Regions from separate parts of the Homo sapiens genome. Here all the other regions are linked to region 1. Evidence: promoter capture Hi-C in 16 types of primary human blood cells and fetal thymus (Javierre and others, 2016). All regions are on one chromosome and are shown on one strand. Each heading gives the region's core, a stretch centred on a gene start or on the middle of the fragment in contact. The rest is flanking DNA. Distances are from core to core; before and after follow the strand shown. Region 1 holds the start of IKZF2 (IKAROS family zinc finger 2). Region 2 overlaps SNHG31 (small nucleolar RNA host gene 31). Region 3 has its middle 130 kb from the start of BARD1.

Region 1 (3,530 bases), core at 1,031-3,530:
GTGCTAGAGAGAATCATTTAAAAAAAAAAAAAACTTTGGGCAATTATTCTCATGCACAAACGCCACACAACAGAACATAATTCTCAGAAACAAAAGTAAACTGTATGAGATGACACCCCCTAGCTTTGATTCACATAATGAAAAGATCGATAATCTAACTGTATTCTGTGGGGAAAAAAGTTTAAGAATTGACAAGTCCTGAGAAGATTTTTACTTTTTTTTCCCCCTTTGGCCTTGGTCCTTTTTGCCTTTAGTTTCAAAACTCTCACTGCACCAGCAGCTAAATTATTCACAATGAGCCATTTCTGTATTGATCGCCAAGTATATTTAGCCCTGGCTCCTGGAATTTCTCCATTACTTACTGGAAAACAGGCAGCTTCACTTCTTGTCTCCAAAACCACTTCCCTTCTCCCTCCCCTCCCCTTCTTCACCACCACACTCCCTTACCCCCCCCCCAAAAAAAAACTTTTATTTCTTTCTTTATGGAATAATCAGATCAAATTCCCAACTCAGTCACTACATAGCACTTAAATTTCAACCTGCTGTACTGTTATCACATTCTTTTAAATTATGATTACATAAGGCTTTAAAGAAAGAGATCCGTAAAGTTTAAAAGAGGAGCAGTTTCTTCGGATATTTTACAAATGAGCTTATCTCTTTAAAAATGTACACATTTAACACACACATATTAAAAAGAAAGAAACGTCAGGGAGAAGCGAAAGAAGGCTGCCCCATCAATGAAATGGTTATTAACCCTCAGAGAAGGAAAGAAGGAAAAAGAAAAAGGAGAAAGAGAAACGAAATGTACATACAAAAGAAATTGTCCTTTGATTAAAAAAGATTCATCACCATTTCCAGCTCTGTCGGGAGATCTCAGCTTCTTCTAACCCCTCAAAGAGGAGGTGACAATGTCGGGCTGAAGATAAACGGAGGGAGAAAGAAAGAAGTTTTTTGTGTTTCCCCCTTCTCTCTTTCCCTCCCTTGCCCCCTCCAAGCCAAGCCCCCTGCAGAGTTCAAGGGGAGGAGGAAGGAAAAGCACTTTACAGGTGGGTCATTCCAAGCCCAAATCCAGCAAACAGATCGGCTGATAAACAAAACCAAGAAATGAGAGAGAAGAACACCCCCCTCCTCCTCCTCCTCCTCCTCGTCCTCCTCCTCCTCCTCCTTCCACCCCTCCCCCTCGTCCCTTAGGGATGGTCTAGTAGGAAAAGTCACTCAGGAATGGCACCACGTACTTTCAGGAAAGAGGAAAAAAAAGAGAGAGAGAGAGGTCAGTCAGTGCTATAGCAATGCGATTAACAAGAGAAAAAACTTGATCCACCGGTTCCTTAAGAATCGACCAAAAGCTAAGACAAGAAAACTGAAAGAAAAGGGGGGGGGGGCGGGTAGAGGGGAGGGACAGTCAGGCAGAACCCAGCTAGGAACCCAGGCCAACTTCACAGGACTGTTTTTGGCCCTTGGCAAAAAAGAAAAAAAATAAATAAATCTTAATTCCATCTCTTTCGCCCATACTAGAACCTGTCAAAGTGATTTAACTGCTGCCTGTTTACATGTGTCATACCAGGGTTTTTGGTTTTTTTTTTTTTTTAATTCCAACAGGATCTGGATATTACCTTCTATCTGGACAGCTTCAATTTATTCCAGCCTACCCAATCTTTCTTCTTGGAATTCAAGTTAAAACAAAGCAAAACAAGTCCAAATTCATGACAGCTATAGAGATGAGAACTGATTAATCGATTAACATCCCAGAAACAGATTACAAGGAGGGGACGATAAATTAAGGCAGAGGACATCATCTTCAACCCGATTCCCTGAGCGTCCTTTACAAAAATCATTACCCTAATCAGAACCACAATCCATCCCTCCCAGAGAAAAATACCTATATTATTATTATTATTACTGGTTAACAGCAACAAGTCATTTGATCACATCACAGTGCAAAACGAGATGCTATATAATTACACTTAACTTTGAAAACACTCCCCCCTTTGCAAATCATACACATATTTATATATAATCTATGAATCAGAAGACAAAACAAGAGCTGTTCTTCACCACGCAAAAGCCAAGCGGAGATTTACCTCAGCAGTGCATGCAGTAAAATAATCCCATCACCCTTTTGTTTGTGTTTACTGTTAATGTGTCCTCTGTCTTTCTTTCTTTCCTGTGCCTAACGTGTGTTTGTGCACTGCAGTTGGTGGTGGAAACTAAGGCAGTGGATCTGTAGCTAAGGGTAATCCTGTTTTTACTTCCTCCATCTTCAGCGAGGAGCAGGGTTAGCCCGGGACAGCTGGTCAAACCCCGAGAAACCGATCCGGTGGAGCCCGAGCACATCTCCCCCGCCGGCCGGGCTCGCGCAGACGCCCGCGGGCGGAGGGCGGGCTGGCGGCGGCTGCGGCGGCGGCGGCGGCGGGCGGCTGGCGGCGGGCAGCGGAGCCCCGGGCGCGGGCGAGCGGACGTGCGTGCGCGCGCGTGCGTGTGTGCGGGGCCCGAGCGCCTGTGCGTGTGTGTATGAGAGCGCGTGTGCGCGCGCGCGCGGGCTGGCGGGCGCGTGTGCGCGTGTCTGCGCGCTAAGCCGCTCGGCGCGCTCGGCAATCGATTACAGGACAAGTGCTGCCCCGGAGGCTCCGCGACGCGCGCACTCCCTCGCGCCCACCCGCGCGCCCGGCCGCGTCGCCCCCAGCCCGTTGGTCCCCGGACTGCGGACCCCGCCCCCGACGGGGGCCAGGTAACCCGCTTCCGAGTGTGCCACGGCGACCCCCATCTCCCCTCCCCGTGTCATAATAAATCTCACGTTTTCTGCCGGCTGGAGGCTTGGAGCGGTGAGGTGACGTTCATTTCGGCCGCGTGAAGTTTTCTTTCAAACTGGGATTGGTGGGGAGGCCGGGGGAAGGGAGCGGGGCGGCGATCTTGGCGCCCTGCGCGGAGTCCGGGAGCCGCGTCCCGGCCGAGTCGGGGAGTGTGCGTGGAGCCTCCCACCTACTGGTCTCCGCCGGCAACTCTGCGGCCCCATTTCGGAAAGCGCACCGCATTGACCGGGACCTGAAGCGGGATAAGAGGGGTCCTGGGGAATAGACTGAGAAAGACATTCATGTCTGAGATGAAGCTCAACTATTACTATTTTGAAAGTGCTTTAACAGTGCAAGTTTAAAAACTAAAGTGTTGACTTGCTTTTTCTCCCCCGGGGCATGTGCCACGTCTTCCAAAGTCAAAGGAACGGATGAGTACAAAAAGTTGCTACCCTTGAAGTGTTACCTATCACTATCAACCACAGCTTGTTTATTTGGAAAGAACTTAAGTGAACCGTCAAGAGAAAAACAAATGCATATTCTTTCTACAAATAGTAGCATTTAGTATCTTTCCTGACCACATTTGCGAAAAGAGGGAATAGAGACTTCTATAATTAAAGGGAAAAGGAAAATGAAAGGAGCTGAAAATAGTGAACTGTGTAGTCTGGATGGCTGAAATTTGAAAACACATGAAATTATCAGGACTGCCAAACGGTGTTCCTGAGAAACCATATCACAGAT
Region 2 (3,530 bases), core at 421-2,920, 1.7 Mb after region 1:
CGCTCACCTTGGACTCACAAAGCGCTGGGATTACAGGCATGAGCCACTGCACACAGCCTAAAATTGGTGACATATTCTTTCAGTATTCAACTTGCAAGCAAGTCACATCATTGATGAACAAGTTTCACTTCTGTCTGACTCTAATACAAATATCAACCAACATATATGTTGCAACTACACTCAGAATGCTCATTGTTCAACATTTACCAGCATGTCAGTGCATCTACCTATTATGTCCAGTTGTGTCTACCCTGCCTACCACCGTGTGGAAATCTCAGGCTGTGTTTGACATTTAGTCGCAAACACAGTGCTGTTGGCACAACATGGGATCCAGACTTTGCCTCCTCTCAGGATCTGTCACTGAGCTCCATAGTGATGTTTACTGCCTAGACTCAGAAGCTTGGCATGCTGGCTGGGCACAGTGGCTCACGCCTGTAATCGCAGCACTTTCGGAGGCTGAGGCAGGCGGATCACCTGAGATCAGGAGCTCGAGACTAGCCTGGCCAACATGGTGAAACCCCATCTCTACTAAAAATACAAAATTAGCCGAGCATGGTGGCGCGTACCTATAATCCCAGCTACTCGGGAGGCTGGGGCAGGAGAATCATTTGAACCTGGGAGGTGGAGACTGCAGTGAGCCGAGATCATGTCATTGCACTCCAGCCTGTGCAAAACGTGAAACTCCTTCTCAATAAATAAATAAATAAAAGAAGCTTGAAGCTTGGCATGCTCTGAGGTCATGAGCTCCTCGCTCCTTCAAGCCCCTCAACCCCTCCAGTCCAAAACTCTCCCTAGGTGCTGCCTTTACAAGGTACTCCATTTCCACACAGCTCTACTAAAATAGGGATTGTGGCTTTTCCCCATTTTTGTGTCTACTCAAATAATTTAGTGCTGCCAATGCCTTCATTATTTCTCAGAAGCATGCAAAATTGGCTCTTATGGTTTTGTGCTTTTTCCATTCATATCACAAATCCATGAGGGGCTGGTTTGGAGGAACACTTTCTACCCCACTTTTCCTTCTTTATGTGTCTCACCAACTCGCACATTATATATTTAACTTGTGTAATTTATTATTTATATTTATTTATGCAACACCAGCTTCAAGAAAGCATCAATTGTTGTCTGTACATTGCTATATCCCCTGTACCTAGGACAGCACCAGGGATGTAATAGGTGTAGGAATGAATGAATGAGGACAGAGTGAAGACACATGCCGTAATCAAAATCAGCTTGGCCCTTAGATGCTAAGGTATTATTTCCAGACCAAAATTGCTCTTTTCTCTTAGGAGAAGGCTTCCCCACTGCCCCCAGAGATTTCCAGATAACCAACCCTTTTTGGGATGGTTTGTGCCCTTTAAGTTCTCTAAAATGACTAAATTTTTCTGGCTTTTGGTGAGTATTGCTTAGGTTTGTATAGGTGGAGAGAAAGCTTCCTCTCCACCTGCTGAAGTTTCACTGCAATAGACAGATTAATAGGATAAAAAGGCATACAAATTTATTGAACATGCATAAACATAGGAAACATTTAAAATACGAGATTCAAAGAAGAGCCAGATGGTTGATACTACCCTCTTCATAATAGACAAGGAAATATGAGATATAGTCAATCATGAGGAGTAGTAAATGATTTTCAGGGGAAATTAATGAACCCCAAGAACAATGGCCTGGGATGAAGTTTCTCAGAGTTCTGGGGGAGGTGGCAGGATGATGAGTGGCTGAACTTCACTGGGAAAATATGCAAATAGTCTTGTAGGTAAGTAATCTCTTGGAGCTGCCGTCAGAGAAGAGATGAAAAGCCTAGGCATGGTGCTGACTCCCAGTCAGTTCTCTTCTTCAATGGTTGAACTTTCCTGGTCATTTGATGAGATTTCTAGGAAGTGGGTCTTAAGACAATTGCATTTCTGTTGGAAAGAAGCTTCCTTAGTCAGATAAGGAAATCTTAGAATCTCTCTTGGTGCTTTGAGCAAGGAAAAAGGTCAGAGAGAGAGGGTGGTTGGGGAAGGTCAGAGAGAGACTTTAGTTCTGAGGCTTATTTCTGAGGCCTTTCAGTTTTCTTTAATTCAAAGCACTTAGCTTGCCAATGGGGCATATTTTAGGGTATTGTTTTCTGCACTCCAATAGATTCAATCTACTTCTTCTCTTCCCATTGTCTGAAGAAAAATAAAACCTAGGAGTGTATAAAATCAAAAGTTTAAAAAAATTCATTTTCTTAACATGTCAGACCAGATTTCTTTTGTGAGATGGTTTGGGAAAATTCTTGATTAGATGCTTGGCTAAGACTGGGTGTGATGGCTCACACCTGTAATCCCAGCACTTTGGGAGGCCGAGGTGGGCAGATCACAAGGTCAGGAGTTCGAGACCAGCCTGGCCAACATGGTGAAACCCCGTCTCTACTAAAAATACAAAAATTAGCTGAGCATGGTGGTGGGCACCTGCAATTCCAGCTACTCGGGAGGCTCAGGCAGGAGAATCACCTGAACCGGAAGGCGGAGGTGACAGTGAACCAAGATCACGCCACTGCACTCCACTTGGCCAACAAGAGCAAAACTCCATCTCAAAAAAAAAAAAAAAAAAAAAAGATGCTTGGCTAAGAGGGGAATTAGCAGAACCCAAAGTAACTTTCCATGAGGCAAAGAGAGAAATTAAGTTTAAGCCATGGGAAGGAGGAAGAGAGGAAAGAGGATGGTGGGGCAGAGAGAGGAATCAATATGTCATAATCATAGACTGGACTTGAATCGATTAAAAGCAGCCAGGGAAAATCCCAGGATTGGGGTGGCTGAGAACTTTAAGAACAAGAGTCCTTAATTATGGAATGTTTTTTAGCAGAATATAGGATTGCTATGGAAACAAATCTGAAGTCTGGATTTATGAGGGCTGGCCCCTGGAAAATGCCATGTTAGCCATGTAACTGAGTATAAAGGTGAAGATGTTTCTTGCCTCACCAGGCCTCTTTTGTACAAGTGAAGTAGCTGTATACATTATATATAGCTCATCATGATGTGATGAAAGAAAGGAGGGAGGGAAGGAGGAAAGAAAAGAAAAGAAAGGAGGGAGGCAGGACCCAGCAATCCAGAACCTGGAAATAATTGGGAAAGTAATATTGCCAGCAAAGATGGTGCCTGCTGAAAGCTCAGATTTGTGAGAGCCAGGTTTGAAATCGAATCTTTTGTTTTATCTCAGTAAGACTGGGTGAAGGCTTCTATTTTTTTGTTATGTTTTTTAATATCAGAAAAACAGTACATCCTGCTCCCAAGGGGAAACGTTTTGCTCCCAAACAAGGTGGGCAAGATAGATATGGTACGAGGTGTTTCAGGTTTCTATTTCCCTCACTCTCCAAACTGCCCAGCCAGCCTGTGAAATGCATGCTTATCATTCCAGAGGCAAGACATGACAGTCCTTATGGGTAAAACATATTACCTGAATTTGTTTCTGATCATATTATCTTCTCAATAGAGTTCTGTTTTCACACTCAGTGGGCTTGATGTCGAAGATTTTCACATGTTTCCAGCTTATTGCTTTAGGTGAAGGAG
Region 3 (3,530 bases), core at 364-2,863, 1.5 Mb after region 1:
CAGAAGGTAAACTAACAGACAGAAGTTTGAATAATTTAAGGAAAACTGTTTTTAACAAATAAAAAAATAGCAGGGCGCAGTGGCTTACACCGTAATCCCAGCACTTTGGAAGGCTGAGGTGGGTGGATCACGAGGTCAGGAGATGGAGACCATCCTGGCTAACACGGTGAAACCCCGTCTCTACTAAAAATACAAAAAAAATTAGCCGGGCGCGGTGGCGGGCGCCTGTAGTCCCAGCTACTCGGGAGGCTGAGGCAGGAGAATGGCGTGAACCCGGGAAGCGGAGCTTGCAGTGAGCCGAGATTGCGCCACTGCAGTCCGCAGTCCGGCCTGGGCGACAGAGCGAGACTCCGTCTCAAAAAAAAAAAAAAAAAAAAATTAGTCGGGCGTGGTGGCAGGCACCTGTAGTCCCAGCTACTCGGGAGGCTGAGGCAGGAGAATGGTGTGAACCCGGGAGGCGGAGCTTGCAGTGAGCTGAGATTGCGCCACTGCACTCCAGCCTGGGTGACAGAGCAAGACTCTATCTCAAAAAAAAAATAAAATAAAATAAATAAATACATAAATAAAAATAAAAAATAAAAAAATTAAACCCAGTAGTTCAAATTTTACTATCATGCCTTGTGCAGTGGATTGAATCTGTAATCCCAGCTACTTTGGAGGCTGAGGTTTTTGAGGCCAGGAGTTTGAGACCAGCCTGGATAATATAGCCTGGGCAATATAGTAAGATGCCCATTAACATTAAACATATATATATTTATTTAAATACATGTACACATATATATTTACTATCAGGTATATAAAGGAAAAAAAAACAGAGAAAATGTGTATATACTGGATGGAATTTTTTAAAATACAGATTTGTGTAACTTCAAACTCAGAGATTCTGATTTAAGAACTCAAGGTCAGACCCTGATAACTATAATTTTACAAATGTCTCATATGATTTTCATTCCAGTGCAGTCGCTGAAGAAAGCTGATGCTACTTGAAATTACCTTCAATTAGAAGGTTGGGTAGGAGAAGGCATAGAGAACAGAAGGAAATTGGTGAACCAGAAAAGCTGAGTACTCATCTCAAAAAGCATTTCTCTTCTGATCCTCTACCCATATATCCTGTAAAACTTGTACCAAAGGGAAACAAAAAAGCTTATATTTCACCTCAAGGCTAAAGAGAGGTGATCCAATATCCTGCAGAGTTTATGCTTTATTTTTCTGAGAAAGATCTCTCTGCAAAAGGACAAGACTTGAGAAGTGCATTTTGTTATAGAAGATGCAGAGTTCCAGGAAAAGCGAAATATGGTGGAGAGGTTAGTTAGTGGAAGAGAGTAGGAAGTGTGCCCTCCTGGAATCATATAAGGATGCATCCCATTCATTAAAGGCAACCCAAACCTTTGGAAGGATATTGATTGTCCTGTGCTTGATTAAACAAGGAGAAATCAGACCCTATTAAGTTGACGAATCTCTTTTCTAGCCAAATATTCTAAATTCTTCTACTATGGCATGCTGCCAGACACCCAGAATTTATAAAAATTTCTTCAAGAAAAGCTATGAATGTGATAGTAAAAAAGTGAGAGGATGGTAGGATGCTAATGGCTAATCATGCAGAAATTCTTTAAAAAATATTAGAATAATAACTTCCAGCTTATGCTCTTACTGAAAGAAAATTATATGTGAATCATAGTGACTGACTTAATGGATAATACTAATAAGAGAAATAAGCGTTAAAGCTGTTGAACACTGTATGCCGAACTCTGACGAAGCATTTTACATGTGTCTACTTATTTAAGTTCACAATAACCCTGTAAGGTAGGTTTAAGTGGTAAAGTAACATCCCCAGGTTCTTACATTTCGGGTCAGTTGTCAGAGAAAGAATTTGAATCTAACAGTCTGGCTTCAGAATCCATCTTTTTTTTTTTTCACGTTTAACCTACTTTTATTCATGCTTGCCTTGGGATGGTAAATAGATCACTCAGTAAAAACATACAGTAAAAACAAAATGTCTTATTATGTACAACCTTTAAACTACAATAATAATATGCCTTAATTACTTCTATGCACACCAGAATCCATCTTAACCACTAAACTTATAAGCTTTACGCTGACCACGGAAATGGAGAAAACACCATAAAAATATGACAAGATAGGGAAGGTCAACAGCTAGGACAAAAATAATAAGAATAGGTGAAGGATAGAGTAAAATGATAGGAATAATACTATTAACTTCAAATCTACTGGGACACAACATGAAAAATAACAGGCATAGGATTTTACAGCAAAATTACAGATGCTATCTTAGGTATCCCCAAGATATGGTGGCATGTAAATCATGGCTAGAATGTGGATAATGCAATAAACAGATCTAATAGAAAGAAGAAGAATTATAGTATCAAACACTCTGGAAACCAACACATTTTAAAGTGGATCATCTGGTGGAGAACATTTAGTTGAGAATTAACAGATAATTAAAAAGTAAAAACTTTGAGAAAGTAAAGAAAGATTGTAGAGCCTGACATAGCTACTATGTTTCTAGTGCTAATTATAAAACTCCCCAAATCTAGCAGTGATGGGCCTTCTTTGCTCCTCAGGAAGCAGATGCAGTGGAAAGAGTATGAGCACTAACATAGCACAAAACTGGGTTTAAATCCCATGTCTATCATTTATCATTTTGACTTTTTGCAAAACTACTGACATTTCCTGAGTCTCAACTGGAAAATGGGAACAATTTTCTTTACTATATTCTTTTGAAATAATTAATTCAAAATAACACATAAATACATTACAGGTCCACTAAATGTCAGTCTTCTTCTGCTGGAACTCTTGTTATGCTGAAAATAGAAAATATAATAAATGTTTGACTTTCTTTGCTAACCACACGGCCTCCTGAAGATGAAGGAGAAAAACCACCGTGTTGCACTGATTGCTGAACAATTAGAGAAACTGAAATTGAATCAGAAAAAATAAAGGATATTGTAGGTGGTGAAAACATAATGAAAACCTTGAGAAGATCTACCCACACCATCTTGGAATATGTGATAATAAACACAGGCGTGAGATGAAAATGAGCAATGGTATGTTCTATTAAATGCAAGTAATTTGTTTTCAGAGTAGGACCTACTTCACACTATAAATTATTAAAATTTCCTTTCAATATTTTCCCCTGTATACTATAATTTGACATCAATGGTAGGCACCCTCCTAACTAAACAATGGATCAAAGAAGAAATTTCAAGGGAAATTAGAAAATAATTTGATACTAATGAAAATAAAAACACAATGTACCAAAACTTATAGGATGCAACTAAATCAATACTTAGGGGGAAATTGATACCTGTAAATTCCTATATGAAGAAAAGAAAGATCTCAAATCAGTAAGTTAACCTCATACCTTAAGAAACTAAAAAAGGATGAGCAAACTAAGTCACAAGCAAGCAGGAAGGAAATAATAAAGATGAGAGTGGATATAAGTGAAAGAGAGACTAGAAAAACAATAGAGAGGGAGGAGCTGGTCTACAGCTCCCAGCGTGAGCGACGCA

What was found. Contacts are between HindIII fragments. The CHiCAGO score rates a contact against its expected background, and 5 or more counts as called.
Region 2: a fragment that was not itself captured here is called in contact with the fragment with the promoter of IKZF2 in region 1 in 1 of 17 cell types (naive B cells); the score reaches 5.8 in naive B cells.
Region 3: a contact is called between a fragment that was not itself captured here and the fragment with the promoter of IKZF2 in region 1, in 1 of 17 cell types (fetal thymus). The highest score is 5.9, in fetal thymus.

What each region holds. Positions count from the first base shown.
Region 1 is chr2:213,149,332-213,152,861 of GRCh38, forward strand. It overlaps IKZF2 (IKAROS family zinc finger 2), which reads right to left and starts at 2,281. Exons shown (of 9, transcript NM_001387220.1): 1 at 2,082-2,281; 2 at 813-916. RefSeq lists an enhancer at 1-5 and silencers at 2,372-2,431, 2,512-2,871. The HindIII fragment of the contact is 7,158 bases long and covers 1-3,530 here.
Region 2 is chr2:214,820,111-214,823,640 of GRCh38, forward strand. The region is part of intron 1 of SNHG31 (small nucleolar RNA host gene 31); the gene reads left to right. Among named protein-coding and RNA genes, the nearest start is that of SNHG31, 12 kb to the left of the region's middle. The HindIII fragment of the contact is 486 bases long and covers 1,428-1,913 here.
Region 3 is chr2:214,680,305-214,683,834 of GRCh38, forward strand. No RefSeq gene overlaps it. Among named protein-coding and RNA genes, the nearest start is that of BARD1, 130 kb to the right of the region's middle. The HindIII fragment of the contact is 945 bases long and covers 1,142-2,086 here.